2 separate regions of the Homo sapiens genome follow, and region 1 is linked to region 2. Evidence: promoter capture Hi-C in 16 types of primary human blood cells and fetal thymus (Javierre and others, 2016). All regions are on one chromosome and are shown on one strand. The core of a region is centred on a gene start or on the middle of the fragment in contact, and the rest is flanking DNA. Distances in the headings are between cores, read along the strand shown. Region 1 has its middle 11 kb from the start of TACC1. Region 2 holds the start of PLPBP (pyridoxal phosphate binding protein).

Region 1 (4,815 bases), core at 1,316-3,815, 1.0 Mb before region 2:
AGGAGGATCGCTTGAGCCCAGGAGTTTGAGACCAGCCTGGACCACACAGTGAGAGCCCATCTCTACACACATGCACACACACAAAGATAAAAAAGAAAAACTATAATGCTTCTTTAACATTGTGTGTCTATGCACCTCTACTCTTTGAATTTCCACAAGATCACCATGGTAGAGCCTAATTCCCTCACCCCACATCCTGTATCCATCTGTATCCATCATTTCCTTATTTCTTCTAGCAAAAGAACCCTCTGAATTTTTGCTGAGCACATGGTCACACAGCAAGAGGCCACGTTTCCTTCTCTACAACTAGGTGTGGCCTGTGACTCAGTTCTCACCCATGGGATGTGAGCACAAGGGGTAAGTGCAAATTTGGGGCAGTGTCTTTTTTTTCTCTTTTAGAGACAGAGTTTTGCTCTATTGTCCAGGCTGAAATGCAGTAGTGTAATCATATCTCACTATAGCCTCGAGCTCCTGGGCTCTAGCAATCCTCCCACCTCAGCCTCTTGAGTAGCTGGAAATCCAGGTGCACACCACCATGTCCAGCTAATGTTTTTTGTTTTGTTTTGTTTTGTTTGTAGAAACAGGGTCTTGCTGTGTTGCCCAGGCTGGTCTCAAATTCCTGGACTCAAGCAATTCTCACCCCTTGGCCTACAGAAGCAGTGGGATTATAGACATGAGCTATTGTGCCTGGCCCCTGGGCCAATGTCTTTAAAAAGAAAACTGCATGTCCAGCCTCTCCCGGCCGAAAAGTTGTGAACTGCGTGTCACAACTTCTGCTGTGTGAGGACCACACTCTGGACAGGATAGAGCCACAGAACAGACAGAACCCGCACCAGGCTGACTGGGGAGCAGAGCAGCCTGCGGCCCTAGACTAATTGCTGCCTGAGGACTGTTCCATGAGAGAGAAAAGTCTATCTTCTCTTTTTTTTTTTTTTTTGAGATGGAGTCTCACTCTGTTGCCCAGGCTGAAGTGCAGTGGCGTGATCTCGGCTCACTGCAACCTCTGCCTCCCGGGTTCAAGCAATTCTCCTGTCTCAGCCTCCAGAGTGGCTGGGATTACAGGCTCGTGCCACCACACCCAGCTGATTTTTGTATTTTTAGTAGACATGGGGTTTCACCATGTTGGCCAGGCTGGTATCGAACTCCTGACCTCAGGTGGTCCGCCTGCCTCAGCCTCCCAAAGTGCTGGAATTACAGGCGTGAGCCACCGTGCCCAGCCTAAAAGTCTATCTTCTTTATCAGACTGTGTCACTGGGCCCCTTTGTAACAGCAGCCTCATCTCCACCCTCACATTACAACCTCCTCTGGGGGATTTCAGCATCTAAGCTTCCTTAGATGAAGGTATGGGAAGAACCTGCCTTAAATTTCGTTCTACATTCTTCTGAACAGGATTACATGAAAGTTCCTTCAAAGATGGAAGCATTTTTAAAAATGATAAATCTACACAGGTTGAGCATCCCTAATCCAACAATCTAAAATCCAAAACGTTTTGCTTGTCAACATGACACCACAGTGGAAAATTCCACACCTAATTTCATGTGGCCAGTCACAGTCAAAACACAGTCAAAACTTTGTTTCATGCACAAAATTATTACAACTGCTGTTTAAAATTACCTTCAGGCTATGTGTAGAAGGTGTATATGAAACATAATGAATCTCATGTTTAGACTTGGGTCCCATCCCCAAGCTATCTCATTATGTATATGCAAATATTCCAAAATCTAAAATCTGAAACACTTCTGGTCCTAAGCATTTTGGATAAGGAACACTCTACCTGTATCTCAATGATGTCTTTTCTCAGGGCAGAAAATTCCCGAACCAAAAGACTCAAGCCTGCCCCGTGGATGATGTCCTAATTATCCTAAAAACAGGACTGAGACTACCCTTCCTTCTGCCGTAATGACTTGAGCTGTGATACTGACTTTCTAGAAATTAGGCAGTTGCATTTTTAAAGATGACTGATGTGGACAAAAACGTTGAAGAAGGAGGGAGTCAATATTTAGATTTCACAAAGGCCAAGTAGAATGGATTTACATATTGATGAAGGTTATTATTTTCTTTGGGGAGATTTCCTTGAAATAATATGATTGTATAACTCCAATATTTGCCCAATTCTAAGGATAAATAATAACAATAATAAATAATAACTGACCCAAATCCTATAAGTGAATTAATCATTGTTCTTTGGCTTCAACACTAACTGGTGCTAGTGACGATTTCTAGCACACACACAAAATATTTTTAGAAATTGTTTTCTTATGGGCTCAATTAGTCAAGTTATTTTGTTGTATTATTTTATAGAACTATGACAAGCAAGAGCGAGTTTATCCTTACCGGTCTTCCCTGTACCTCATCATGTATGATATAGGAATATCTTATGTGTTTTCTGTTTCCTTTGGCCAAGGCATAGACACTGAGCAGAATATATTTGTTTTACATTATTTTCTGAACAAATGATAAATCACTGCTACAGACTGACTGTTTATATCCCCCCAAAATTCATAGGTTAAAACCTAAACTCCAATGTGAGAATATTAAGAAGTGGGGCCTTTGGGAGGTGATTAGGTCATGAGGGTTCTTCCTGGGGTCAGCGCCCTTATAAAAGAGACCCCAGACAGCTCCCTCTCCCTTCTTCTGCCAAATGAGGACACAGGGAGAAGACATCCAGGAGGTCAGCCTTCACCAGATGTGGAATCTGCTGGTCCCTTAATCATGGGGACCTCCATCCTCCAGAACTTCCAGAAATAAATGACTGGTTTATAAACCACCCAGGCAATTATATCCTTATAGTAGCCTTAACAGACTAAGATAATCACTGACTCCTAACCTAAGCATCCATCTCAGATCTCATAGAACCACAGAAATTTTTAGCTGGAAAGGACCTTTGCCAAAGATCACTGGGTCGAATATCATTCTTTTTGGAAGAAGGTTTACTCAGGCACCAAAGTGCACAACTAGGATTCATAACCCTTGCAAGGAAGGTATGAAGGTATGAATTCTGGAGTTTCCCCCCAGCCCCAAAAGATATGCCCACTTGGTATGTATAATAGAGATATGACTTCTCCCCAAAATTCACCTCATTTTAAAAGGCACTGTAAATTGTTTTATAAAGCAAATACATACAAATAGTCTTGTACTTTGTTTTAAAAGTTTTTGGTTTTCATTTTTTTTTTTTTTTTTTTGAGACGGAGTCTCACCGTGTCACCCAGGCTGGAGTGCAGTGGTGCGATCTTCGCTCACTGCAACCTCTGCCTCTGGGGTTCAAGCGATTCTCCTGCTTCAGCCTCCCGAGTAGCTGGGATTACATGCATGTGCCACCATGCCCAGCTAATTTTTGTATTTTTAGTAGAGAGGGGGTTTCACCATGTTGGACAGGCTGGTCTCGAACTCCTGACCTCGTGATCCGCCCGCCTCGGCCTCCCAAAGTGCTGGGATTACAGGCGTGAGCCACCGTGGCTGGCCTTTAAAAATATTTTTATAGCCTAGGCAACATAGTGAGACCCCATCCCTTCAAAAACAAAAACAAAAAAAAATTAGCCTGGTGTGGCAATGCACACCTGTAGTCCTAGCTACTTGGGAGGCCAAGATGGGAGGATCATTTGAGCCCAGGAATTCAAGGTTGCAGTGAGCTGTGATGCTACCACTGCACTTCAGCCTGGGCTATAGAGTGAGACTCTGTCTCAAAACAATAATAAAAAATGTATTTTTAAATACCTTTAGTGTTTAAGGCAAAATAATACATATGTTCATTCATTCATTCATTCATTCATTCATTCCACAAATTTGACAAATGACCAAGCTTTGCCAGCCTCTGCTGAACACTGTGTTGAACAAAAGAGACCCAGTTCCTGCCCTCATAGAACTTGCATATTAGTGAGCTTAGTAAGCCAACAAATAAATATGTAATATATAAATTGTCATGTATGAAATATAAGAACTGCAGGGGGCTCTGAGAATGGCTGGTGGACGGCATCGGTGGAGATGTCAAGGGAGGTTGCTCTGAAGGAGTGACAGACTGAAGCCTCAGGGATAGGCAGAAGCTGCCTGGGTGAAGTGTAGGGTAACAGCGTTCCTTCATCAAGACACTAAGGACAGAAGCAGCCTCCAGTTTTGAGTAAGCGTGGTTGAAGAGCAGCTGCTGGAGGGAGGAGAGGGGCTTAGGCTGGTGAAGTGGGAGAGGCACAAGGCATGACAGCCTAGAAGACCATGTTAAGCATCCTTGTCTCTGAAAAAGTGAATTTTTGACTACATAGGCAGTTCAAAGAAGAAAGAAAAACCTGCCCATAGTATTGTCTTTCATAAATAGCCACTGTTAAAATGTTGGTGAGCTAGATATACCCTTTTTTCCCTCTTTTTCAAAGTACTTTTTACATCTGGAATTGAAATATTTATGTTTTTCTATTAATATTTATAATCTGTCTTTCCCTACTAGACATAAGCTCCATGAACACAGAGTACCTTACCTATCTTGTTTCTTCTGCTCAATATTTGATGACTGAATAAAGATTGCAAATCTCTCTCTTACATATACACAAGCATGTACTTATTTGGACAAATGGAACAACAGATAGATAGCTAGATAGATAGCTAGATAGATAGATAGCTAGATAGATAGCTAGCTAGATAGATAGATACTTTTACACAAATAGTGAATAAGTACTTTTGGCAAAAGACAATATGTATGTTTAAATATTTATTGATTTTATTAATATTTACCAGTGTAAATATTAATGTTTATATTATATTAGTATTTATTTAATATAAATATTAATATTTAAATATAAAAATTTATATTATATTAATATTTTAATTTAT
Region 2 (5,216 bases), core at 323-2,822:
GCAGGAGAATTGCGTGAACCCGGGAGGTGGAGGTTGCGGTGAGCCAAGATCGTGCCACTGCACTCCAGCCTGGGCGACAGAACGAGACTCTGTCTCAAACAAAACAAAACAAAACAAAACAACACAACAAAAAAAAAAAAAAAAAGAAAGAAAAGAACCAGTGGCAGAACTAAGGCTGCGACACAAAAAATTCTGGATTCAGGATCAGACCTATGTGACATCCTCTCACGACCACTATACAAAGAGCGGGGGTTCTATGCGTTCTGCTGCCACCCAATCCACATAGAAACAGTAAGAGAAGAGATTCGTTTATCCTTGCACGATTTAGTCTTCTTGTATCCATCATCCCCTGAAGTTTTCACAGAATCACAGTGTTCTCAAGGACGTGACGGAGTCAGATCAATTAGAAAAATGTCTCCTCTTCCTTCCTTCCACAGCGATGCGTAACCAGCCTCGTTTGAGTCCAAGTCGTGACTACTGGGAGTATGCTGATGATTGACGCTTTCCAGAGAGTTACCCGAACAGGCAGCCCATCTGCCTGAGAGTTTCCCTGAGAGAACCTCCAAGGTGATGTTTATTAGGGGAAGCCCTAGATTTTTCTTGGAGAATCACCGAGAATCACAGAATATTAACATCAGAAGAGATCTCAGAGCTTTCAGAGCTGAGGGCCGGAATAGTTACCTGACTTGTTCAAGGTAACGTCTAAGGAATAGTCAAAGAAAGACTATAATACAGGTCTTGTCTTCAGCCAGCATAAATGCTCGATCAGAGAAACCTGTGACCTCTCTGTTAAGGTCCGTCTCATTCCACACCATTCAGCTTAAACTTGCACTGAGGTGGGCAGATTTTGATTCTTGGTCTAATCAAAGTCCAAGAGGATGTAATATATATATACACAAAAGACGAAAGCTCCCCTTAACCGGCTTGGGATTGGACTTCTCCCTCCTGCCCCATAAACAAGTGCCGCTCTGATGCCAGCGAAGTCCGGCCAGTCCACCCTCACCTCGGCCTCCGGGCGGCACTGGCATTTCTTGGGCACTTAGCAGGTGAGACGCTGCCACACACGCGATCTCGGGCGTCTCTGGCCTCCGCGGGGTGCTCTTGTACCCCCGTCTCCCCTTACCATCCGTGGGCACAGGCCTGGCCCCCCTCGCATCCGCCAAGGCTATCGACCCCGAAACGACGCGGTGCGCAAGTGGCCACGACACCTAGGCACTAAGTCATTTTCCCGAGGTAGCGGTACCCTCTGCTCCAACGAAGCCAATCTCCAGAAAACCTAACAGACTCAAGGTAAGGAGGCTGGGGAAACCCTTCGCTAGCCTTTCGGTGGCCCTAGGCGGCCGACCAGTCCCGCCTCTCTGGGAGACCCCTCTGCGTCACCGTGACGACCCATTCCCACGCAGGTGTCCCTCTTCTCAAGGCGGCCGCCCACCGTCCCCACGCAGCCTCCTTCCTCACCCGCGGCCGCCGCGCCACAGCCTGCTGCACGCGCTCGTTCACCGCCCGCAATGCGCACCCGACTCCCAGCTCGGCCGACATGCTGCCAGCTCTCCACATCCCCCGGGGACCGACGCCGAGCCCCAGGCCCCCGGCAGCCCGTGGCTCACACCATCTTCCGGTTCCGCCCAGCTTGCGCCGTGTGAACCAATCATTGCTCATCATTGAGTCGTCTCACCCAATCAACACCCGTGCAGCGTGGAGGCCCGCCCCCAGGCGGCGGCCATCTTGGGGAGGTCACCCGCGAACCTGGAAATGGAGCCTAGGGGCTGAGGTTTTGCGCGCCTGGTTCCAAGGGCCACTCCCCGTGTGCTCTCCTCTTTCCTGCGCCTCAGCCGCTGCCGTCCCCCCACCCCCAAGGGACTTTTGTGAGGCAGAAACGCATCCTATACTCGGGGGATCCTGTTTCCTTTCAAAACGCCTTTCCAGGCTTGCCCGTTCCCGGCTTTCTGGGCGCGGGGACCAGAATTAGAAGCCACTGGGGCGGGAGCCAGGGCTTTTCTCTGTCAGATGGTTCTTGCGAGGAACCCCTAAGCGATACGAAAGGAAACTCTTCTTTCTTCTTTTCCCTAAAGACATGGCGTGATTCAAACGTATCGTGATTTTTGTCATCTTTCAGACCACTGCTGTCCAAGAGAAATATAACGCCATCCAACTGTGTAATTTGGAAGTTTCTCATAGGCACATAAGCTTAAAAATTTTAATGATATACTTTATTTAATCCAATATATCCAAAGTAAGATTTCAACATGCAATCAATAGAAAAACTAAATGCGATATTTTAATTCTTTTGAAAATCGTATGTGTTTCTGAAACCCGGTGTAGTGTTGACTTGCATATGTCTCAATTCGGGCCATCCCTATTTCGAGAGGTTAGCGGCCACCTGCGGCCAGTGCTGTCTCATCAGGGGACACAGGCAGCATGATTATTACTATTATTATTATTGAGACAGTCTCGCTCTGTCACCCAGGCTGGAGTGCGGTGGCCCGATCTGGGCTCACTGCAACCTCCACCTCCCGGGTTCAAGCGATTCTCCTGCCTCAGCCTCCCCAGTAGCTGGGACTACAGGTGCGAGCCACCGCGCCCAGCCCACAGGCAGCTTTAGATGGTCTAGCAGGAGCTCAGCACATTCAGTTAGATTCTTTTTTTGAGATGGGGTCTCGCTATGTTGCCCAGATTATCTGGGACTCGTGGGCCCAAGCAATCCTCCCACCTCCGCCTCACAGAATAGCTGGGACTACAAACGGGCACCACAACGCCCTGAGTTTGATTCTTGAGTCCCCTTCTGTGGGCAATATGGTTATAAACTTGATGAGGAGCCAGGCCATACAAATAATAATACAGAATGCTACATAGTCAGGTGGTGAAATAGTAGGTGCTACGGGCAAGGAGAAGGAGATCAATTTTGTTAAGGAAAGCACTCTTGGCTGCAATTTCTGTTGAAAGTTTCTCAAACATTAATTCAACTTAATGAAGTGGGATGCTATTATATTAGAGAAATGGCTAATGTTTGTTCTTCAGGTGGTCTTGTCTTGAGGTGATGGGGTTTATTAGAGCTTTCCGGAAAGAAGGGGCAATATTCTTACTCTCTCCTCTCACAGTTTTTCCCCAGACTCCCAGGAACAGAGATGGAATTTCACATCTTCTGCTCTGGGAAAGTCACATTAGGCAGAACCTCAGATCCTTAAAATAAGGGACTTCTTTTTGGGAAGTCTCTGGTCATTTACCCTGGTACACATTAACTGGGTTATCTGCAAACTAGGACTGCCAACATTAGGAGTAATTGTGTTCAGATAAAATGTCTCTAGACTTGATACATCTGTACTCCAACCAAAATGATAAAAAAATTTAAAATGACCAGAATGGCCCTTTGTGGTGTGAGCATAATAGATGCTTGCTGTAGAGACACAGGTGGGAAGGAGCGAGCCAGCAGTGAGTGATGGGGAGGACAGAGGGGATCATGGTGATGGGATGTGTAGAGGAAGGATTGGGTGAGATGAAACACTTCAAATAATGTGCTATTTGGAAAACATTTTAAAACCATAAATACCTCACAGATCTAGGGAATGTATAATCCAGGTGTTACGTCACTATGACAACAAGTAGTTGTAGCTTCATTTACTAGATTGGGCCTCTATTCTTTTTTGTGTTTTTTGAGACGAAGTCTTGCTCTGTCACTCAAGCTGGAGTGCAGTGACGCGATCTCGGCTCACTGCAACCTCTGCCTCCTGGGTGCAAGTGATTCTCCTGCCTGAGCCTCCCGAGTAGCTGGGACTACAGGCGTGCATCACCACGCCCGCCTAATTTTTGTATTTTTAGTACAGATGGGGTTTCACTATGTTAGCCAGGTTGGTCTCGAACTCCTGACCTTGTGATCCACCCGCCTCGGCCTCCCAAAGTGCTGGGATTACAGTCGTGGGCCACCGTGCCCAGCCAGGGACCTCTATTCTTTGAACTACAAGGCAAGGTCATCCTCCCACCCCCTTATCCATTCAGTGAACATTTACTGAGGCGTTACTCTGTAAAGAACCCTGAGAGAGACCAGGCTGAGTAAGACAGGCTTTACTGCCGATTTACTTCCAATATGCTCGCTTTTCATCTCTGACATTCTGTGGTCTTATGAAAATGGAAATGGAGACAAAAAGATCATGGTGCCCCCAGTCCCATGGTCATTTCACATTCCAATTTCTTCTTAGTTGTACTTTTGAATTAATTTTATTTCACTTTGTCCCTTTTTTTCCTTATTTGCTTTTTTAATTTCTTCTCTTCCTCTTCCTGGGACATCAACCATCCAATTTAACCTTTCATCCTCCCCTACTACCTAATCCTTGAAAAATACAAGTCCAAAATCATTTCATCACCAGTAATTGTCTTTAAATTGCTCCAATAATTTGCAAGGACCAAGGGGAAAAGAGAAAGATTAAAAAGCCAAATGCCCAGAGAAACAGATTTTATAAATAATCTAAAATCTAGTATACTTATTCACCATCAATGCCATCAAGCTTTTAAAACACCCTCATAGTCTGGAATAAATCCAAATTATGAGAAAAACATATATGGATTTAAAAATTGTTTCCTTCTGAGCCTACTGTGAGTCTTTTAGGGGGATAAAAAAGTAAAAAGTAAAATAGAAAATTACTGTTGCCTGGTTACTTAGCTCTAAAGAGAAACGGAGAAATAATGCCCATGTCCCATCCCAGTTTAAATGAATTCAGGTAGAGTAGCCCATGACAGCAAGCCCTTGGCACACATGCCATCACATCTGGCCTTTGAAATGTCTATAGAGATAGTAGAACCCTAGACCTAGGGAAGACTTAGGGAGGTTTCATACAGAAAGAATGACATTTAAACCATCCCAAACAGCACAGAGTCTTCACAATTTCTGAAGACCATCAGAGAAGAATATTTATTTTCTATTTGCAAGTAACTACTCCTCCCCATTTGAAAATTTAGCAAGCCTGATCTTAAGTAAATTCTTTACAAATCCTCCTTTATTCAAGTGAATTTCCTCTTTTTAGCTACCAGTATGTAACTTTTATAATCGTGAAGTCATTAAATGTCCCTTCTGCCTTTTCTGGCATCAACCTATGAGCTTTATTTCTTAATTACTTTTTTTTTCTTTTTGGTTTTAACATTTTCTTTCTAGCTTCTTCAAATTTTTTTCATTTTTAAAATTGGAGACCAGAACTGGACAGTTCCTCTCAACAGGGCCAAATCAG

Evidence for each region. Contacts are between HindIII fragments. The CHiCAGO score rates a contact against its expected background, and 5 or more counts as called.
Region 1: a contact is called between a fragment that was not itself captured here and the fragment with the promoter of PLPBP in region 2, in 1 of 17 cell types (activated CD4 T cells). The highest score is 5.3, in activated CD4 T cells.

What each region holds. Positions count from the first base shown.
Region 1 is chr8:38,773,378-38,778,192 of GRCh38, reverse strand. It overlaps a transcript of TACC1 not described here. Among named protein-coding and RNA genes, the nearest start is that of TACC1, 11 kb to the left of the region's middle. The HindIII fragment of the contact is 2,473 bases long and covers 1,329-3,801 here.
Region 2 is chr8:37,759,001-37,764,216 of GRCh38, reverse strand. PLPBP (pyridoxal phosphate binding protein) reads right to left here and starts at 1,572. Exons shown (of 8, transcript NM_007198.4): 1 at 1,459-1,572. The coding sequence starts at 1,557. LOC124901934 (a long non-coding RNA gene) reads left to right here and starts at 953. Exons shown (of 2, transcript XR_007060889.1): 1 at 953-1,290; 2 at 1,404-5,216. RefSeq lists enhancers at 1,144-1,203, 1,512-1,806, 1,384-1,843, 1,944-2,023 and a silencer at 1,564-1,884. The HindIII fragment of the contact is 3,991 bases long and covers 1-2,189 here.